Linked DNA regions of Homo sapiens: region 2 is linked to region 1. Evidence: promoter capture Hi-C in 16 types of primary human blood cells and fetal thymus (Javierre and others, 2016). All regions are on one chromosome and are shown on one strand. The core of a region is centred on a gene start or on the middle of the fragment in contact, and the rest is flanking DNA. Distances in the headings are between cores, read along the strand shown. Region 1 holds the start of ADPRH (ADP-ribosylarginine hydrolase). Region 2 holds the start of TEX55 (testis expressed 55).

What was found. Contacts are between HindIII fragments. The CHiCAGO score rates a contact against its expected background, and 5 or more counts as called.
Region 2: the fragment with the promoter of TEX55 here is called in contact with the fragment with the promoter of ADPRH in region 1 in 6 of 17 cell types (fetal thymus, naive CD4 T cells, total B cells and 3 more); the score reaches 8.9 in fetal thymus.

Annotation. Positions count from the first base shown.
Region 1 is chr3:119,577,896-119,580,983 of GRCh38, forward strand. It overlaps ADPRH (ADP-ribosylarginine hydrolase), which reads left to right and starts at 1,597. Exons shown (of 5, transcript NM_001125.4): 1 at 1,597-1,956; 2 at 2,656-2,741. RefSeq lists enhancers at 1,201-1,702, 1,487-1,586, 2,527-2,746 and a silencer at 1,767-1,906. The HindIII fragment of the contact is 4,349 bases long and covers 1-3,088 here.
Region 2 is chr3:119,144,582-119,147,669 of GRCh38, forward strand. TEX55 (testis expressed 55) reads left to right here and starts at 1,584. Exons shown (of 3, transcript NM_152539.3): 1 at 1,584-3,006. The coding sequence starts at 1,609. It also overlaps a transcript of IGSF11 not described here. RefSeq lists a silencer at 841-1,135. The HindIII fragment of the contact is 11,642 bases long and covers 1-3,088 here.

The DNA.
Region 1 (3,088 bases), core at 347-2,846:
GACGATACATAACTAAATTCCACTTGCCTCCTTATAGATAACTTCTCTGATAGGACACCATGGAAAATATTGCTTAAGTTATTTTTCAGGAACTTAGAGTCAGTTCTTGTCCAGTTCAAGCCACCAGCCCTTCATCTTGGCCTGCGTGAGTGTCCAATGGGTGACCTTTTGACATCAGAAGGCCCAAAACTCCACTCTCAGATCATGCTAACGTCACGATTTTGTGAACATGTGTTCTATGAACAGCCATGAAGATTGACTATGCTTGCTCAGATTACCGATTGCCTCACTTTTCCTTACCTCATCTTTCTCTGAACCTTGGACCACCTTCCTCCCCTATCCCATAAGCACTCCTAAAATTCCATCTTTGGAAAGGCACATTTGAGGCCTGTTCTCCAGTCTCCTGTCTTGGCTGCCTTGTGAATACACCCTTTCTCTACTGCAAAACTTGTGCGCCTCAGTGATTGGCATACTGTGTGAAAGACAAATGAGCCTGGTTCCCTGACAGGAGCTGAGCTGTCTCTTCCTGCATGCAGCCAGCAATAAAGATTCCTCTAGGAGAGGTATGTTCTCCACGCCAGAGCGAGAAAATAGCTCTCATCACCAGAGATTTGGAACTGGAGGTGGCATTTGGACTGGAGTAAACATTCTTGCAAAGTAACCATTATCTTCCACCTGTTTTACACCCCACCCCCCATATATCTCCTAGGGGCTCCCCTAGAAATTTTTTACCACCCTAGCCGGATTTTCTTTGTCCTGTCACTTCTTCTTAAATTTATCACTCTTTTTCTAAAAAGTATAAAAGCATCTTGCTTTGGACACTTTCTTCAGGATTCAGTCTCTTAACATCCCCATGTACATGTAAAATTAATAAAATTTGTATACTTTTCTCTTGTTAATCTGCCTAGTGTCAATTTGGCTTCTAGATGCAGCTGATTAGCTCACTAAGAGCTAGAGGGTGTAGGGGGTTGGAGGTGATCTCTGCCTCCCTTATTGGTGAACTTGATTTTTGTAAACACTCAAAAGTCACTTAGGCTAGAGTTGGAGATGGAGATGGTTATTCACTGGGAAGGCCACAAGAGAATGTTTTAAAGTGATGGAAATATTTCATATCTCGATTATGGTGTAAGGACATTTCATTATATATAAATTATATATCAATTTTTTAAAAAGCTCTCAGACCAAGGCTAGTCATTACAGCAAGAAAATAGGCATAGCAAATTTAAAACTTTGGAGAAATATATAGAATATTTGCATATGGTGATTCTGATTTGCTTTAAAAGTGACATGATTAATGTATTTAGACAAAAATACTCTTCGTTTTTCTTTGCTTTTATTTACGATCAGGATACAAGAATTCTACGCTGCTGCCAAATAAATGACTAGTTAAAATTAACTAACTGAATCCTTAACAACCATTCTAAGAGGCAGATATTATTATCCCACTTTATGCGTGAGGGCCCAGAACCCTGGCAAGGGCGGCACACTCAGTACGCTCTTCAAGCATCTGGGCACACCCGGTCCACTACAGTCCTACAAAGTCGGACGTGAGCACGGGCGAAGGCGTCAGCCGGGGCCACACGGGAGTCACTGACCACAGCCAGGCGAGAGCCGGCTTTCCGGTGCCGCCACATTCCGGGCACCAGGCTCCGGGCTCTTCAGAGCATTTGGGGCGGGCGACGGAGGTCCCGTCCACTCTCGCTTGGGTGCAGAAGGGCGCGGCGGTGCCAGGAAGCCGCCTTGGAGGCTCCAAGATTAGCTCACTCAGCGCGGCCAAGCGCAGGTGCGGGGGCCCTCGCCGCCACCCTGCTTATCTGGGGACAGTCCCGGAACCCGGTGACCCGGCTCCGCCCCAACCCGCGCCCTCGTCCACCCGCAGCAGCCAAGGCCTCTTCCCCGGCCCCGGGAGCCCGCGCCACGCCCGTCGCTCGCGCGTTCCAGTCCAGGCTACAGCAGGTATCGCGATCCCGGCCCTCGGCCCCGCGCTCCCCTCCCCCGCCCCTGGCGCTCTCCGAGTGTGGCCGACCATGAGGATTCCCAGTCTTGCAAATCGTGGGAGCGTGTCAACCGCCCCGTTTCTTTCCAAAGCCGGGCATGGCCCGGAAGCAGCTGATCAGATCTTAGTTCTGAATGTATAGTTCGGGTACGAGAATGTGACCCGTGAAAGTTCAGAGGAGTTAAGTAATTACAGCGTTCTGAAAGCGAACGTTAAAGGGAATTTACAACCGAAAAAAGATGCCGGTCTTCTTCCCCCATCCCAGCTTGCAATTCACAGAAGCACACATTAGGGTGGAGCCAGAAGGAATTACGGAAAGGACAATGAGGACATTGAGAGGGAGGGTATGGGGGGTTAAAGTTAGTCCTCCGAGGCCAAGAAGCAGAGTGTCTTGGCCTAGTGTCTGAAAATCGCAGCGCAGGACGGAACTTCCGAGAGCCTATACCTCCCCACTTCCCCCTCCAGTTTACAGATGGGCAAACCGCTGTCCCGGGTGTCTGTCAGGTCTAGTAGCCCAGAATCTCAGTGCCTAGGCTTCACTGTAAATAATAAACTATGTAAATAACATTTACAAATATCCTTTGTGAGCTCAGAAACTCAGCATTACCAGTAACTGGGTAGTGGAACGCATCCATCTTCGTCGTTTACTCCTTCTCCAGGGGCTCTCCAGCCTGCATTCCATGGCCAACAGCAGTGCAGCTGCAGAAGCACTTCTGGAAGCCTCCTGACTTGAACTAGACCTTGGGTAAATAGGGTTTAGATAAGTGGAGGGGAGGGAAAAGTTTCACCTGAGGGGAGAATGAGCTAGTCTGCCAGACCCTTATAAAAGTATTGGCCTGGATGGGATGGAGGGCTTTGACCTGAAAGCCACAGGGAGAAGGGAACCCTGAGGAATTGGCTGAAAGAGGGGGGTTCTTAGGAAATGCACCAACAGGGAAGCCAGCGCTTTACCAGGGATTTCATTCATGGTGGGTATATTATTAATAGAGATTCGAATTCTCTAGAAGCTGATCATTTCTAAGAGAAACAATATTTAAACATTACTGTCGAAGGAAAGGTTGTGGGGAGAAAATGTTCTAGTTCTAAAACAGA
Region 2 (3,088 bases), core at 334-2,833, 430 kb before region 1:
ATGAGAAAATATCTTCAGATGAATGAAAACATAACACCAAACACTTGAGAGATGCAGCAAAAGCATCAGCTCAGAGGGAAATTTGTAACTATAAAACAGCTACATTTAAAAAAAAGATCTCAAATTGATAAATCATCATTTTGTAAAATATATACATACCTATAGATATAGACACATAGATTTGCATGGGGGTATTTCCAGAAGGATAAACATCAAAATGTCAATACAGGTTATCTCTTGAGTGTTTGGGAATTTTTTTCTTTACGCTTTCTTTTTTATATTTCTATGATTATTACATTTAAGTTATAAAATGGAAAAATAAATCTCCAAAACCAATAGCACTTTGAAGCTACAAGCCATAGCCCAAGACCTATTTTACTCTAAACACAGTATCCAATGGTGTCATGCATTTTTAAATAAATAAGGTAGATAATTCATAAAGTGACATTCAACAAGCACTTCTTGAGCACCTATTATGTTCTAGGCACTGTTACATAAATGACTTTACTTCAGTGTGCTTAGATTCCCCTTTCCATTCCTAAGTATGGTGTCAAGTGTATCCACTCTCCTTTGTCACAAGTATTTGAATTTGGATTTTAAGTCTCATTTCTAATTGTTTAATGCAGTTAAATCCCTACTAAAGGAATATCTGGCATCACACTACCAACCCTTGGCCTGCCTCAGTGATTTCAGGCTTTGCAAGGTCAAAGTAATTTGTCTCATCAATCACCACCTCTGTACTGGCCTACTCCTGAAAGTAGACAGCCTACTGACTCTGAGGTGCATTCTTAAGGTTGATTGCAAAGTGGGAGGACCAAATCTCAAAAACTGGGCCCCACTGGCCAACACTATCAAATACAAATTCTCCACTTGCTAAATATTCCTTCTGGTATCTTTCTCCCACTTTCCTTACTCCCTTCCTTTCTGGAACTCTGATTTGGCCTCCTTCTAACTCGCCTCTCTGCTGTAAGACCACTAGATGGTGCAGTTTTAGAACCCATTCTCACTGGATCTTCTCTCCTCTCTCTGGCTCTCCCGCCACAGATCACATGTCTAATCCAGCAAGAAAACACCTTGGGGCAGGAGTTTCCACTGCCAAGACAGCTATACCCAAAGGGGATGGCAATAGCAACAACCTCTGTTCAGTTTTGTGGTCCTCGTGCAGCTGGTTGTGTGTTCATCTGTTGACATTTGGAGGTGCGGTGGGGGATGTTAATCAGAGGAGCAGTACCTGAGAGAGGGCCTCTTTCTCACACACTGCGGAGAACCTCTGTGAACAAGGAAGAGGGTAACACTCTAGGTGGCGATGCACGGAGCCCCGTGGCCTGGTTGCTCGGCAGGGTGAGGAGAAGCTGTAACTGCCAGAGCCTGAGAATCGCCCCTTCTCAGGACATGGCGTACTCCCTGCGCTCGCCTGCACACTGCAGGGTCAGCTGACTGCCGTCCCTCCACTTACAACAGCGGGACGGCCACTCTCCCTGACGCACGCAGTGACCCGAACAAAGCCCGTGGGAATCATGGGGCGTTCCTGGAGGGTCGCCTAGACGACCCAGCCCAACCCCACCCACAGTGCCTGGCAACCTAGACCAGTCAGGGACGCGGCAGGAAATGGAAGAGCCTCCGCAAGAGGCTCTGGCTGAACCCTTGAAACATGAAAGCCCAGCCGCTCCCTCAAGTGCTGGCCACACTAAGGGCCAGGAAGAAGACGACCAGAAGAACCAGGCCGAAAGGAAGGCAGATAACCACACTGCTCACAGAATAGCTGACCAGACTGCCCTAAGAGTGCCTAGCCAGGCTGAATCCAGCATATTTAGCCAAGCTACCAACGGAGTAGCTGAACAAAATGGGCATAGTACACCTGGTCAGGCTGGCCGCAGAGCATCCAACCCTGCTGATGTTTCTGACCTTAGAGCAGATGATCAGGTTAATCAAACACCGTCTGAACAGACTAAAGGCAAGGCATCTAGCCAAGCTAATAATGTACAGCATGAACAGAGTGATGGTCAGGTGTCTGGCCTGACGGAGGAAAGAACTGCTGAACAGACTGAACGAAGATTACCTACCCAGGCTGAGAGAAGAACTTCTGGGCAGATTGATGGTAGACTGGCTATGCCATCTGACCAGAGAGGTTCCAGACAGACCGACCACAGAATGGCAGGCCAGTCTGAGAGAAGAGCTTCCGAGCAGATGGACCGCAGAATGTCTGGCGAGGCTGAGCGAAGAACTTCTGAGCAGATTACACACAGATTATCCAAACTATCTGAGAGAAGACCTTCTGTGCAGATTGACAGTGGGTCATCCGTCCCATCTGACCAAAGTCCTTCTGTACAGATTGACAGTGGATCGTCCGTACCATCTGACCAAAGACCTTCCGTACAGATTGACCGCAGAATGTCAGGGAAAGTTAGGAGAAGAAGTTCTGAGAAGACTGACTACAGATTGGCTGGCCTGGCTGACCCAGGAACTTCTGAGCAGACTGACCTCAGATTGTATGGCCTCGTTGACCACAAAACATCTGTAAAGACTCACCACCAAGTGTACGGCCAAGCCACTGAACTAGCTGAACACCAGGCTATTGACCAAGCTCATAGTAATGCTGATCAACCTCCAGTTGACAATGCTCACTACACTGAATCTGACCAGACTGACCACTTAGCAGACAGACAAGCTAATCATAAAGACCAGCTGTCTTACTATGAAACACGTGGCCAGTCTGAAGACAGAATATTTCCCCAGTTAGGCAACAGCAAAGAGGACAAAGAGGCTGACTACAGAGTACAACCCTGCAAATTTGAGGATAGCCAAGTAGACCTCAATTCCAAGCCTTCAGTTGAAATGGAAACTCAGAATGCAACCACTATCCCACCCTACAACCCAGTTGATGCCAGATTCACCAGTAACTTCCAAGCAAAAGACCAAGCTCTTTTCCCAAGACTCCCCTCCATCTCATCCAAATTGAACTATACCAGCAGTCAAGAAAAAACTCAAGCCATAGTAACCAAATCTGTAAGTTAAATGGGCATTTGATACCTACCTGGGAGATCAGAGATCTAGACGGGGCCTGGAGAGTAAAAATAGGGGTACAACG